Regions from separate parts of the Homo sapiens genome. Here all the other regions are linked to region 3. Evidence: promoter capture Hi-C in 16 types of primary human blood cells and fetal thymus (Javierre and others, 2016). All regions are on one chromosome and are shown on one strand. The core of a region is centred on a gene start or on the middle of the fragment in contact, and the rest is flanking DNA. Distances in the headings are between cores, read along the strand shown.

Region 1 (2,700 bases), core at 87-2,586, 590 kb after region 3:
TGGACAACATTCTTTTTTTTTTTTTTTTTTGAGACGGAGTCTCGCTCTGTTGCCCAGGTTGGAGTGCAGTGGCGGGGTCTTGGCTCACTGCAAGCTCCGCCTCCTAGGCTCATGCCATTCTCCTGCCTCAGCCTCCCGAGTAGCTGGGACTACAGGCGCCCACCACCATGCCTATTTTTTTTTTTTTTTTTGTATTTTTAGTAGAGACGGGGTTTCACCGTGTTAGCCAGGATGGTCTCCATCTCCTGACCTCGTGATCCAACTGCCTCGGCCTCCCAAAGTGTTGGGATTACAGGCGTGAGCCACAGCAGCCGGCCAGACAACATTCTTTTAAACACTCCTTTTTAGTTATCCCCACCTGCCCAGTTCCCTTATTAGGCCGAGACATCTTAACCAAATTATCTGCTTCCCTGACTATTCCTGGACTACAGCCACATTTCATTGCTGCCCTTCTTCACAACCCAAAGCCTCCTTCATGTCTTTCTCTTGTATCCTGCCACCTTAACCCACAGGTATGGGGACACCTCTACTCCCGTCCTGGCAACTGATCACATGCCCATTACTATCCCATTAAAACCTAATCACCCTTACCCTGCTCAACACCAGTATCCCATCCCACAACAGGCTTTAAGGGGATTGAAGCCTGTTATCACTCGCCTGCTACAGCATGGGCTACTAAAGCCTACAAACTCTCCTTACAATTCCCCCATCTTACCTGTCCAAAAACCGGACAAGTCTTACAGGTTGGTTCAGGATCTGTGCCTTATTAACCAAATTGTTTTGCCTATCCACCCTGTGGTGCCCAACCTGTACACTCTTTTGTCCTCAATACCTCCCTCCACAACTCACTATTCCATTCTTGATCTTAAAGACACTTTTTTCATGATTCCCGTGCACCCCTTGTCCCAGCCCCTCTTTGCTTTTACCTGGACTGACCCTGAAACCCATCAGTCCCAGCAACTTACCTGGGCTTTACTGCCACAAGGCTTCTGGGACAGCCCTCATTACTTCAGCCAAGCCCTTTCTCATGATTTACTTTCTTTCCACCTCTCTGCTTCCCACCTTATTCAATACATTGATGACTTTCTACTCTGTAGTCCCTCCTTTGAGTCTTCTCAACAAGATACCCTCCTGCTCCTTCAACATTTATTCTCCAAAGGACATCAGTTATCCCCCTCCAAAGCTCAAATTTCTTCCCCATCCATTACCTACCTCAGCATAATTCTTCATGAAAACACGCATGCTCTCCCTGCCAATCATGTCTGGCTGGTCTCTCAAACCCCAACCCCTTCTACAAAACAACAACTCCTTTCCTTCCTGGTCGTGGTCGGATACTTTCGCCTTTGGATACCTTGTTTTGCCATCTGATTAAACCATTATATAAACTCACAAAAGGAAACCTAGTTGACCCCATAGATCCTAAATTCTTTCCCCACTCCTCTTTACATTCCTTAAAAACAGCCCTAGCAGCTGCTCCCATACTAGCTCTCCCTAACTCATCCCAACCCTTTTTCATTACACACAGCTGAAGTGCAGGGCTGTGCAGTTGGAATTCTTACACAAGAGCCAGGACCACACCCTGTAGCCTTTCTGTCCAAACAATTTGACCTTACTGTTTTAGGCTGGCCCCCACATTATTCCAGATACCACACCTTACCCCCATGACTGTATCTCTCTGATCCCCCTGACATTCACTCCATTTCTGCATATTTCATTCTTTCCTGTTCCTCACCCTAATCACATTTGGTTTATTGATGGCAGTTCCACCAGGCCTGATTGCCACTCACCAGCAAAGGCAGGCTATGCTATAGTATATTCCATATCTCATTGAGGCTACTTCTCTGCCCACCTCCACTACCTCTCAGCAAGCTGAACTCATTTCCTTAACTTGGGCCTTCACTCTTGCAAAAGGACTATGCATCAATATTTATATTGACTCTAAATATGCCTCCCATATCTTGCACCACCATGCTGTCATATGTGTTGAAAGAGGTTTCCTCACTATGCAAGGGTTCTCCATCATTAATGCCTCTTTAATAAAAACTCTTCTCTAGGCCGCTTTACTTCCAAAGGAAGCTGGAGTCATTCACTCCAAGGGTCATCAAAAGGCGTCAGATCCCATCTCTCAGGGCAATGCTTATGCTGACAAGGTAGCTAAAGAAGCTGCTGGCGTTCCAACTTCTGTCCCTCATGGCCAGTTTTTCTCCTTCTCATTGGTCACTCCCACCTACTCTCCCACTGAAACTTCCACCTATCAATATCTTCCCACACAAGGCAAATGGTTCTTGGACCAAGGAAAATATCTCCTTCCAGCCTCACAGGCCCATTCTATTCTGTCGTCATTTCATAGCCTCTTCCATGTAGGTTACAAACCGCTAGCCTATCTCTTAGAACCTCTCATTTTCTTTCCATCGTGGAAATCTATCCTCAAGGAAATCACTTCTCAGTGTTCCATCTGCTATTCTACTACTCCTCAGGGATTGTTCAGGCCCCCTCCCTTCCCTCCACATCAAGCTCGGGGATTTGCCCCCGCCCAGGACTGGCAAATTGACTTTACTCACCTGCTTCGAGTCAGGAAACTAAAATACCTCTTGGTCTGAGTAGACGCTTTCATTGGATGGATAGACACTTTCACTTCACAGGGTCTGAGAAGGCCACCTCCGACATTTCTTCCCTTCTGTCAGACATAATTCCTTGGTT
Region 2 (2,700 bases), core at 124-2,623, 540 kb after region 3:
CCCTAGACAAGACTGGGTCCTGAACTTTGCCCCTGCTTTCTGAGTTCTAGGCTTTGGTTTCTAGGCTCTAGGATGTGGATTCTGATTTCTGAACCCCATTTTCTGTTCTCTGGGTCTGGGCCTGGAGATTCAAGGCATTCCACAAATGCCTTTTCCTACTTGTCTTCTTCTGGTACTCTAGCCAGGCTAGCCTGCCTGCTCCCCAAAATGATTGTGGCCATTCCTGCCTCTGTCCCGTTGCTCTTGCTCCCCATCCAACCTAGGATGGTCTATTTCTTTTCTTCTTCTTCTTTTTTTTTTTTTTTTTTTGAGATGGAGTCTCACTCTGTTGCCTAGGCTGGAGTGCAGTGGTGCGATCTCGGCTCACTGCAACCTCTGCCTCCCTGGTTCAAGTGATTCTCTTGCCTCGGCCTCCCAAGTAGCTGGGATTACAGGCATGTGCCACCACACCCAGCTAATTTTTGTATCTTTAGTAGAGACGGGGTTTCACCATGTTGGCCAGACCAGTCTCAAACTCCTGGCCTTAAGTAAACCTTGGCCTCCCAAAGTGCTGGGATTACAGATGTGAGCCACCACACCCGGCAAGAATTGTCTATTTCTTCCCTCCAACCACTCAATTCTTCTCATGCTTCAAGGACTAGCTCTAGTCTCAGCTTTGCCAGCCAGGCTTCTCTGGCTATAGGCCCTTCTCTGCTCTGATCTGCAGAGGCTTCCCTCACCATCTGAATGGTTTCTTAAGAGATTTGTCCAGTATGAGTCTTGAGATCCTTCTGCACAGGCAGAACCTGGGCTGGCCCTTGTCTTATCCACAAACTAGCAAAGGGCTAGGCATGTGATGTCAGGGGAGGCTCTAGACATGCCCACTTGAACTCAGCTCAGCTGTAGAATAAGGGGGATAATGACTGCAGAGGTGGTTCTTGTTCCCCCAGTGGCCACCCTAGTGGCTCTGTCGGTCACAGCCCGGAAAGCAGATGGCCAGGTAGGCAGACAGCTTTTAGACACTGGTTTACTCATGTGTTTGTTTGATACACATTTATTGAACAGCTTCTATGTGCCCCAGGCCCGTGGTCAGCATGGAACAGGAGAGGGAATCATTTAAAAAAATGTGATTAGACACAGTCCCTGCCCTCAAAGTCTTATCCATTAGTATAAGACTATAAGTCCACAAATAATGACAATGCATCAAACCAACAAAAATCAACAGAAGTGCTCTTTGTCTTATGCAACAATGGACTCTTGGAGCTGGAAAGGACCCCAAAGTCAGAGACTCTGATATCCCATATTCAGCTAAAACATATTTATATACATTAAATGAAACAATGTGATGACAGCTTTTACTTGACACAAAGTGATGGTCAAATGAGGACAATATTGGTGATGACAATAAGACCGTGATTATTTTCCTTCTTAGCAAGCGCTAAGCCCTGCTTGCATACTCCATGTGTTGGGGGAAGCTCATTCCATTGTTTCCACTTTGATCCTTCAGAAAGCCATTCTCAAGGATGAGCTGAAATCAGCCTCCCTGTCCCCTCTCAGCAGTTCACTGGACTTGATTCTAACTCCCAGACCACACAGTAGAGCTGGGACTAGGGTGAGGCGAGTGAGATGCCCACGGCACAAAACCTAAGGGATCACACACAGAGCTGAGAGCAGATGCCTTCCTTAAATATGGCACCTCACATGCCTCACCCTAGTCCTAGCCCTGCCACACAGTCTGTGCCTCCTCCCCAGCCAGCCCCAGGGGGGAACTGTCAGATTTCTCAAGTAACTTAAGTCTCCAAAGGAGCTCTGACCAGCAGCCTACAGGATGTGTGTTGAGCTTGTGCAGCCCCCACTCCCAGGGATGGGGTGATGGGGGCAGAGGAAGACTGAGATTCCTAGGAGAGTATGGATTCTAGCCAGGGAGACTCACCTGCCCACTTCAAGCCTGTCCTGCATGACTCCTTCTGCCTGGCTTTGCCTGGTTACAGCCAACTCCCTCTCCCCTACAGCACAGGTACAAGCAGCCTAAGTAAGAATGGTGTGCCCAGATCTGGGCCCTATAAGAAGCCAGGTGGTGGGCTCTGAAAGACACTGAGCAGTGGGCCTGGATATAGAAAGTAATGAGGGTGTTTCTCCTTCCCATGGGCATCTCCAGGTAGGGATGTGTGTGTGTGTGTGTGTGTGTGTGTGTGTGCGCGCGCGCGTGTGTAGAAGGCAGAATGTAAGGTTTACAGAAAAACCCTGGAGAATGGGGGCGGGGAGGGGCATGGAGTCTGGAAGACAGTGTGACCAGCTACACTACTTCCTAGTTTGTTCACCTCAAACAAGCCACGTGATCTTTGTGAGCCTCAGTTTGCTAGCTGTAAAACTGGACTTAAAAAGACTATTTTCCTACCTAGAGGGAGGATTATGAGAGGGCCAACTGTGACAGGCCGAGATCCTGACTAGGTTCAGCTGTCTTCGTGGGCTGGGGTGAGGCCCAGGCATGCCGAAACCTCCTGGGTTCTGCCCAAACTGGAGTTGCACCCTGTCTGCTCGCCTGGGGTCCAGCTCGCTCTGTGTTGCCTGAAACCACTCCTGCAGCCTCTCTATTTCTCTCTGGCCCTCATTGATCCTGACCTTACAAATTCTCGATTTTTTCTTTCCTGTTTAAAAAATCCTGTCCACCTTCAAGGCATCTTCGGCCTCTCAAGATCCCTGAGAGGGAGGCAGTGATGG
Region 3 (2,700 bases), core at 70-2,569:
TGCCGCTAATTTTGGCCTAATGGCTTCCTGGGACCACACCAAACCCTCCAGCCCTACCCCCAGGGGAATGGAGGGTCACTGGGGAAGGGGAGGTTGTAAGTGAAGACAGCAGTCTGGTAGGGCATCACCTGCTCCTCACAAGGCACCTGTCCCAGAGCATCTCTGTCCACCCAGGCTGCTCCCACAGAAGCAGCATGGGGGCTCAGGGTTTCCAGAAACCTCAGGGGGGAAGCCACAAGGTGGGGGGCTAGGAAAGGCTTAGACAAGTGCCTACCTTCTCCTATGCCCCAAGCCCAGCTGACCAGCCCCTGCCTAGAATACAGTAGGTGTGTAAATACCTGTGAAATGAAAAACGAGTGGGGCTTTGAGGGGGAAAGGGCTGGGTGGCCTGGATGGAAGTCCCTTCCCCCAGTAAAAGCTACTGAGAGTTTTTTTGCCCCTGCTGCCTGCTGAGGTACGGGGACAGTGGGTCCTGCCAGGGACCTCCGGACTCTCTCTTCCACACAGGTGGCTCGGGGTGCTCCTCAAGCTTCAGGCTAGTGTGTGTGTGTGTGTGTGTGTGTGTGTGTGTGTGTGTGGTGAGGGGCACAGGGGAAGGGGTGATAGTGATAATGGGATGGGGGGAGGGGGAGGCATTTCTGGCTCCCAGGGCCTCCTCGGGAGAGTGAAGGAGACTGGAGAGACCGACAGGACGGGGCACGCGGCCGAAACAGGGGAGCGGGGTCCGGGTGGCACCGGCACGCACTGCGCGAGGGCCGGGTGCGCAGCCATTCGCTGCATGGTTAGCGGCCGCTCCCAGGGGCCCGGCGGGACACACAGTAGGTGGCTCGGAGACCACTGCGTAGCCGGCGGCGGAAGCGGCTGGGCCCGGAGGCGGAGACCCAGACCCGCCAGACTCGGGCGCTCCAGGCGGTCGGGGAAGCCCAGGCTCGGGGTCTCCCGGCCCGCAGAGTTTGCAGCCCTAGGCGCCCCCATCCCCGCGCGTCCGGGACCGGGGAGCGCGCGAGGGGACAGGCCGGGGATAGGGGGAGGCGCCCAGACCGGCCGCCCCCGCCCCTCCCGCGGGTCCCCAGACCCCTCCCCTAGCCCAGACCCTCAATCCCGAACCCGTCGGCCGCCCCTCCCCGGCCGCCCCGCCCCCGCCCCGGGCTGCATCCAGGCCCCAGTTCCCAGCCGGGGGCTGCGGGCTCCCGCCGCCCGCCCCGCGCTCCCCCCTCGCGCCCGGTGCGGCGCCCCCCGCCCCCACCCCTCCCCGCCCTCCCACCTCCCCACCCACCCCGCCAGCCCGTGACCCTCCCGCCCGCTCCGGCTCCCGAGCAGCCAGCGGCCACCGGCTCCGGCAGCGGCGCACAGCGATTCGGTGCGGCGCGGCGAGCACGACGTTCCACGGGACCCGCGGAGCCGCGTCGTGATCGCCGCCGGCCTCCCGCACCCGCACCCTCTCCGCTCGCGCCCTGCTCAGCGCGTCCTCCCGCGGCGGCCCGCGGGACGGCGTGACCCGCCGGGCTCTCGGTGCCCCGGGGCCGCGCGCCATGGGCAGCCCCCGCTCCGCGCTGAGCTGCCTGTGAGTACCGCGCCGCCCTGCCCCGCCACCCGCCCCCCGCGCCCCTCGCCTCACCCGCGCCTCTCTCTCCCGCCCGCTTTTGTCTCCCACAGGCTGTTGCACTTGCTGGTCCTCTGCCTCCAAGCCCAGGTGAGGAGGGGTGCGCGGAGGCGGGGGCCGGGCGCGCCGGTGTGAGACCCGGGTGGGCAGCGCCGGTCGGGGGCACCGGGACTGACTCTGCGGCCGGCGCGGGAGGGCTGAGGGCACCTTAGAAACCCAGCCCCGAGCCACCCCGAGGAGGGAGCTGAGGCACAGAGAGGTAGCACCCCTCCTGAGGTCACACAGCGAGTGAGTGGCCAGGATAGAAACGAAGGTCTCGGAGCCCAGCACTGTCCCCCATGCATCCTCGCCGGCTGGGGGCATAGGGAACACCCAGCCGCCGAGGAAGGGGGCAGCCGCGGCCAGGGGATGGATGTTCGATGCCAGGGGAAGCCGGGTGACTGCAGCAGAGACCCTCTCAGCGCCCCTCGGGGGAGGCTTGTGGCCGATTTGGCCCAATGATCGGGTGCCCAGGTTCCCTGCACTCTCAACATTTGCTCCGTAAATTTGTCTTTATAAATGTCAGGGGTCGGGGAGGGCTGCCTCCCTACTTAAAAGCGCCCTGCTCCTCTAGGAAGGCCCGGGCAGGGGCCCTGCGCTGGGCAGGGAGCTCGCTTCCCTGTTCCGGGCTGGCCGGGAGCCCCAGGGTGTCTCCCAACAGGTGGGTCCAGCTTCTCCCTGGGGCTCGTTCATCCTGGGCTGGGTCTGCCCGACTTGCGTGGGTGGGGGATGGTGGCCTGGGCTGGCATGTTGGGGGAACCCCCAGCACCTGCTGGCGGCTTGGGGCAGTGAGGGGGACGCAGGGTGATGGGGCCACTCGGGCCCCTGGGCGGAGTAGCATTATAATGGTGTATTGTGTATTTTTCAATTTCCTAAAGGTAACTGTTCAGTCCTCACCTAATTTTACACAGCATGTGAGGGAGCAGAGCCTGGTGACGGATCAGCTCAGCCGCCGCCTCATCCGGACCTACCAACTCTACAGCCGCACCAGCGGGAAGCACGTGCAGGTCCTGGCCAACAAGCGCATCAACGCCATGGCAGAGGACGGCGACCCCTTC
Region 4 (2,700 bases), core at 86-2,585, 640 kb after region 3:
ACGGAAGAAACTGTTCACGTTGCACCCCTTTCTCTAAGATTCCCAGGCCAAGAGTAGCTGCAGAAGGTGGTCCTGAATCTATGGCCTCCTTCTCTCTGCCTGACCCGGCTAGTGGATCCGGAGAGGGGACCAGGGAGAGCTCCTCCGAGCAGGGGTCCTTCGGGAGACAGAGAGGGGTCCAGGCTGAGAGAACTCTTCAAGCATGGCGAGTCTGCGTTATAGAATCGGGCGGGCGGCTCAACTTGGGGGAAGCACCAAGAAGAGCTGGGCGACCTGGAGCGCAGAACCGGCTTTGGGGAGCCACCCGGCGGGGCAGGGGTAGCACGGAGCCCGGGCCGCGGCCAGGCGGGGAGCGCGCGGGCCGGACTCACCTGTGAACCTGTCCTTTGTGTATCTGCGGTTACTCTCCATCCAGGGGAAGGTGAGGCCAGTGAGGTTGTTGACGCCCGGCATGGCAGGCACAGAGGGCACGGTGGGCAAGCCGGTGGCCAGGGGCTGGGGGTGGGCCACGGCTCCGGCGAGCGGCCTGTGTGCCGGCACCCGGATTACCCCCGCAGCGCTGAGTGCCCCGGCACCGCCGCTGCTGCCGCCGCCGCCGCCAGGACCGGGGCCGCCTGCCAAGGCCATGTTCACGTTGTAGGAGCCGGTCAGAGGACCCATGCTGCAGGCGCCGCCGCCGCCTGCCGGGCCTCCGGGGCCGCCGGGACCTCCAGTACCATAGGCCCCCGCTCCTCCAGCCCCCGTCGCGGCCGCGGAGCCCCCGCCGCCGTAAGTGTAGGCGCCTCCGACCAAGCAGCCAAGGCCGTATTCTCCGTCCTGGAGGCGCGAGGCGGGTCCCATGCAGCCACCCTGGTCCGGGCTGTTGAGGATCTGGTCGATGCCGAAGCTAATGGGCTCTGCGTGACCCGGGTGGAGGTGGTGCGGACCCAGGTGCTCCATGCTGGCCCTGGCCCCACCGGGGGGCCCGGGCGGCGGCGCTCGCTGCGCTCGGCTCGGGGGGCAGCTAGCAGGGGCTGGGAGGCAACAGCGGCTCCTGGCTGCGCGGAGACTTGGAAGCGAAGTGCGCAGAAAGGCTAAAGTAGAAGGGGGAGGGGAGGGAGAGAGGGGGCGCCGTATTCTTCCCCTCTCTGGCTTCTGCTTCCCCGCTCCGGCTGCTCGCTCGCTGTTGACTCTGGGACATCAATCACCAGGCGAAAAAGCCCGGTGCAAGAGAGCTTCGCGGTTTCGACTGGGTCTCTCCATTGGCTGTGCGCGGAGAGGAGCGGGGTGAATGACAGCGCGAGGGAGGGGAGGGGAGGGGGAGAGGAAGGCCAGAAGCCGAGACAGATGCAGGAGCCAGAGATAGAGGGACGGAGACCAAGACTCGGAGTAGTTCATGAAGAGAGAGAAGAGGGGAACAAGGCGAGGCTTAAAAGGAAAAGGGAAAACAGGAAGCGACCATTCCCAGAGACGGACAGACAGACAAACCCAAGGAGGGTGAAGTCAACTGTCTTCCCGGCCTGTTGGGAGCCCTCCCCTCACTTTGAACTGGGCCAAAGGAGTCCAGCCCACAAGGCGTCTGAGGAAGGGATGTCTCTGCCCAACTGGAGAATCTCCTCAAGGGCTCAGCTGCGAAACACCTGTCACTCAACCAGGAGATTTACTCCAAATTTCAAGTCCAGCTTTTTAGAAAGTAGAAGACTGTCTACTCCCCAGGTATGGAGCCCAGGCCCTGAGGCAGGACGGTGAGTTCAGGCTTGCCCTTCTTTAAAACACAGGCCTATGAACAACTGGCTATATGTTATAAAAATCAGCAACCACCCCCCAACTCAGCCTTCTTAGACAAATTCAGGAAGGGAACATATCCTGAAAGGCAGGCACAAGTCAAGAGGGTTGGTTTGGGGTCTGCTGCCAGGGTGCCCATGCCTCAACATACCCCTTTGGTTTTAAATAAACAGATGCGTCAAGAAGTAAAATCCTACAGGGTTCGAAAGAGGCAATTCCTACAGTGTTTGAATGAATTCAACCAGATTGCATTCCACCTAACAATTACCCCAGGGTTGGCTATTCCAGACAAGAAGCCTTTGGACTGTGGTGTGTGTTCTTTTCTTACGTTTGGAATCTTGGGAGGGAGCCATAGGGGCTTAAGGCCGTGGGGGCTGGGATTGGTGGGACTAGGATCAGGGAAGTGCATCCAGGACAAATTTAGGCCTTTCCAACGTTTTGCCAGTGGCTGTCTGGCTGAGAGCCCAAGAGAAAAGGAGGAAACTCCCTTTTTCTTCTTCCTGTCTTTCCCCTCTCCAGTAGAAAATGTTTGCTACCTTTTAGAAGCCAAGCTTTGGGAAAGGCACAGGTTCCATCACTTGGGATCTATTTCTGTTCTATTTCAGTTCAGTTTCAGATTAGACTTTTGGGTAGGCCCTGTCTCTATCTGGAAAGATGCTAGGATGTGAAGACTCACATTCTCTCCCATCAAGTCTTATTGCAATCTATTTGCTTTGGGCATGTCTGTCACCTCCACTTGAAGAGATCTTCTTGGAGGCAGAGAGTGGCTTATTCATTTCTGTTCTCTCCTGAAGAATACAGCCCCAAACAACAAAATATGGTCATCTTGGGTGAATAACAAAGAATGTATCTCTTTATTCAATAATATTTATTGAGTACTGTACTCACTATGTGTCAGGCACTGTTCTAGGCATGGGGGACATAGCAGTGAACAAA
Region 5 (2,700 bases), core at 184-2,683, 630 kb after region 3:
TCAAGGCCTTATAATTGTCTAGTTTTCCACACAACATTGCTGTTGACAAGAATACATTTTGCAGTTTTAACAATGGGCTAATATCCACTAGATTCACCTAGAGCCTACATTTCCCAGCCTCCCTTGCAGCTAGCTCTTCTCAAAGGAATGTAAGTGAAATATGCACAACTTTGCAGTCATCTTCTTAAAGAGCTTGCCTTGGAGTTGCTGCCCCCTTTCCTTCCTCTGTCAAGGATTGACACAAGTTTGGAAGGTGGCTGCGGAGAATGGCAAAGCTTCCTCACTAGCCTGGGCCTCCCGATGCCTTCACAGAGCAGAGCTATCTGTCTTTCCTAGATGCAAGAGAAAAAATAATTTATATCTTGTTTGAGCCACTGTATTCTGTGTTATTAGAACAGCCTGGTTTGTCCTTTACGGTAGTGTGGTGCAGTACTTCAGGATGAAACATATGCTATGAGCTGGTACTTAATATTTGCTGCTATTTCCCCCATAGCCTGATTGTATGACCCCAAAAAGAGAGGGCAATACCTTCTACAAGTCCCCAGTGACACCCTCACTTTCTGTGACTCTTGTTTCTACTATATTAGAGTTAGAGTCCCCAAGAGAAGAAAGTTCCCACCAAGAGAAACAATGTTTTCACTGAAATGGGAGCATAAATTCTTACCTGGTCACTTCTGGTTGCTCCTGTCAATGGATGAGCAAGGTTAAAGGAGACTATGGAATTGGCTAGAGCGGTAGCAAGTTCAAGTAGAATGTTTTCCTATACAATGGGGCAAAAAGGAGTATTCATGGAATCACAGGGCTCCCTTGGGGTCCCTTGTAGTGCTGTTATGTCCAGGGGTAAAAGTTAATGGAAGACCACGACAGCCCTTTCTAGGCAGGACCATCAAGGGCTCAGATCCCTCAGGAACAAAGGCTTGGCTCTCTCCAGGATAAAGAACCCAAACCAGCCCAGGTGCTGCCTGAAGGCAAAAGAAACAGAATGGAAAAGGGAGGAGGAATGTCATGAATACGAAATATGCAAAAAAAAAGACAATGGTTTTTACGTCCTGACCTGTTGTCATATTAGACAGTCTATATTTTAACTTCATGCATTTTCTTCCATTCTTATTCCCTTGTAATTGTATTATTATTATTATTATTATTACTATTTTTTTTTTGAGATGGAGTTTCACTCTTGTTGCCCAGGCTGGATTGCAATGGCATGATCTCAGCTCACTGCAACCTCCGCCTCCTGGGTTCAAGCAATTCTCCTGCCTCAGCCTCCCGAGTAGCTGGGATTACAGGCAACTGCCACCACATTCGGTTAATTTTTTTTTTTTATTTTAAGTAGAGACAGGATTTCACCATGTTCACCAGGCTGGTCTCGAACTCCTGTCCTCAAATGATCCGCCTGCCTCAGCCTCCCAAAGTGCTGGGATTACAAGCATGAGCCACCATGCCTGGCCACTACTATATTATTATGTGTGATGATTATTAGCTTTACAATTTAGTCTAATCCACAAGTTGCACAATATTGAGACCAGATTCCAACAGAACTAGAGAAGGAAGAGAACAAAGGTATTGAACTTAGAGCTATGAGGCTTTGGATTGTCAGGAAAGTTGAATATATTTTCTGTCATGAGTGACAGTAACATGTTAGGTGGGAGCATTTTGTGGAGGAAAAGCCTGTAAATTTAGGAAGAAAGGCATATGTGAATATTGGGCAGCCAAAGGGGTGGGTCCCCTCGAGTGGGTCCCCCCACCCTTTTTTAACCTAGCATCTGAACACTTCCTGATAGGGAGACTGTCCTCAAACAGGGTAAATATTGGTGGAACAGTTTTAGCTTTTAATATGGAAGTCTAAGGGACTATGCTCTTCCCTCCCATCTCTGACAACTAGTGCCTGGACACATGTCCTACTCTTAGTGTCGTTAAATGATACTCCATGAGTTTTGAATCTTGAGGGAGTGAAGTGAAGATGGAGGAAAAGTTGGGAAATTACTCTCAGTGATGTTCATGCCGGAGTCTAGCAGCATGTGGTGCTAGCAGCAGTGCCTTAACGAAGCATTCCTGTGTTTCCTGAAACTGATGTTCCTTAATTCCTCAGCCTTCCTATTGATCCTGTAAACTACCGAATATCCCTGGAATCAGTGCATTTTTCTTCTCGGGTTAGCTGGACTCAGACTCCACACACTGAGGGACTGCAGAAAATCAAAGACTCAAGGGAGGAGAGTATTCCCTGCAGTCCAGGGTGGAGAAGCACTCTCTAAACCTTATACAGAGGAGAGGGCTTCTGGCTCCGTATTGGTTGGAGGGGACACTGTTTCCTACAGGCCCATTTTATGGACTCTGATCACAAAGCAGACCCGTTTGTCAGGACAACTGGGGTGGTTATTGACTTGCCAGACCAGTCGCCCAGAAATCCAAAGGAATCAGTCCCCTGAACCCCTACCCTGCCTCCAAGGACCATAAAGTCAGAGAAGTATAGAAGTTTCGGCTCCCTGGGGAGGAGGAGCCAGGGCTGGGTTAGCTCCTCGCCCCGCCCCATAACTCCTGGAGATTCCAAAGATGTGCAGAGGGAGTTGCAGGGCCGACTGTGATGAAGCTTACAGCACTGCCACAGGGAATTTCCAAGTGACAGGGACCCCAGGGTGCTTCTCCTCAACGGAAATTAACAGCACCTGAGCTCTCGTGGCCTTGCCCTTGCCCCGATCCTTC

Evidence for each region. Contacts are between HindIII fragments. The CHiCAGO score rates a contact against its expected background, and 5 or more counts as called.
Region 1: a contact is called between a fragment that was not itself captured here and the fragment with the promoter of FGF8 in region 3, in 1 of 17 cell types (endothelial precursors). The highest score is 6.2, in endothelial precursors.
Region 2: a contact is called between a fragment that was not itself captured here and the fragment with the promoter of FGF8 in region 3, in 4 of 17 cell types (endothelial precursors, M0 macrophages, M1 macrophages and 1 more). The highest score is 8.4, in endothelial precursors.
Region 4: the fragment with the promoter of TLX1NB here is called in contact with the fragment with the promoter of FGF8 in region 3 in 1 of 17 cell types (endothelial precursors); the score reaches 6.0 in endothelial precursors.
Region 5: a contact is called between a fragment that was not itself captured here and the fragment with the promoter of FGF8 in region 3, in 3 of 17 cell types (endothelial precursors, erythroblasts and M2 macrophages). The highest score is 7.4, in endothelial precursors.

Annotation. Positions count from the first base shown.
Region 1 is chr10:101,186,026-101,188,725 of GRCh38, reverse strand. All of the region lies in intron 3 of LINC01514 (long intergenic non-protein coding RNA 1514), which reads right to left. Among named protein-coding and RNA genes, the nearest start is that of LINC01514, 11 kb to the right of the region's middle. The HindIII fragment of the contact is 3,701 bases long and covers 1-2,700 here.
Region 2 is chr10:101,239,179-101,241,878 of GRCh38, reverse strand. No RefSeq gene overlaps it. Among named protein-coding and RNA genes, the nearest start is that of LBX1-AS1, 11 kb to the right of the region's middle. The HindIII fragment of the contact is 4,597 bases long and covers 1-2,700 here.
Region 3 is chr10:101,774,733-101,777,432 of GRCh38, reverse strand. FGF8 (fibroblast growth factor 8) reads left to right here and starts at 1,319. Exons shown (of 6, transcript NM_033163.5): 1 at 1,319-1,564; 2 at 1,657-1,693; 3 at 2,217-2,303; 4 at 2,521-2,700. The coding sequence starts at 1,533. RefSeq lists enhancers at 420-1,238, 1,675-2,413, 2,414-2,700 and a promoter at 1-1,514. The HindIII fragment of the contact is 3,344 bases long and covers 532-2,700 here.
Region 4 is chr10:101,129,781-101,132,480 of GRCh38, reverse strand. TLX1NB (TLX1 neighbor) reads left to right here and starts at 1,335. Exons shown (of 3, transcript NR_130723.1): 1 at 1,335-1,695. TLX1 (T cell leukemia homeobox 1) reads right to left here and starts at 1,181. Exons shown (of 3, transcript NM_005521.4): 1 at 372-1,181. The coding sequence starts at 939. The HindIII fragment of the contact is 16,958 bases long and covers 1-2,317 here.
Region 5 is chr10:101,147,011-101,149,710 of GRCh38, reverse strand. No RefSeq gene overlaps it. Among named protein-coding and RNA genes, the nearest start is that of TLX1, 17 kb to the right of the region's middle. The HindIII fragment of the contact is 2,312 bases long and covers 278-2,589 here.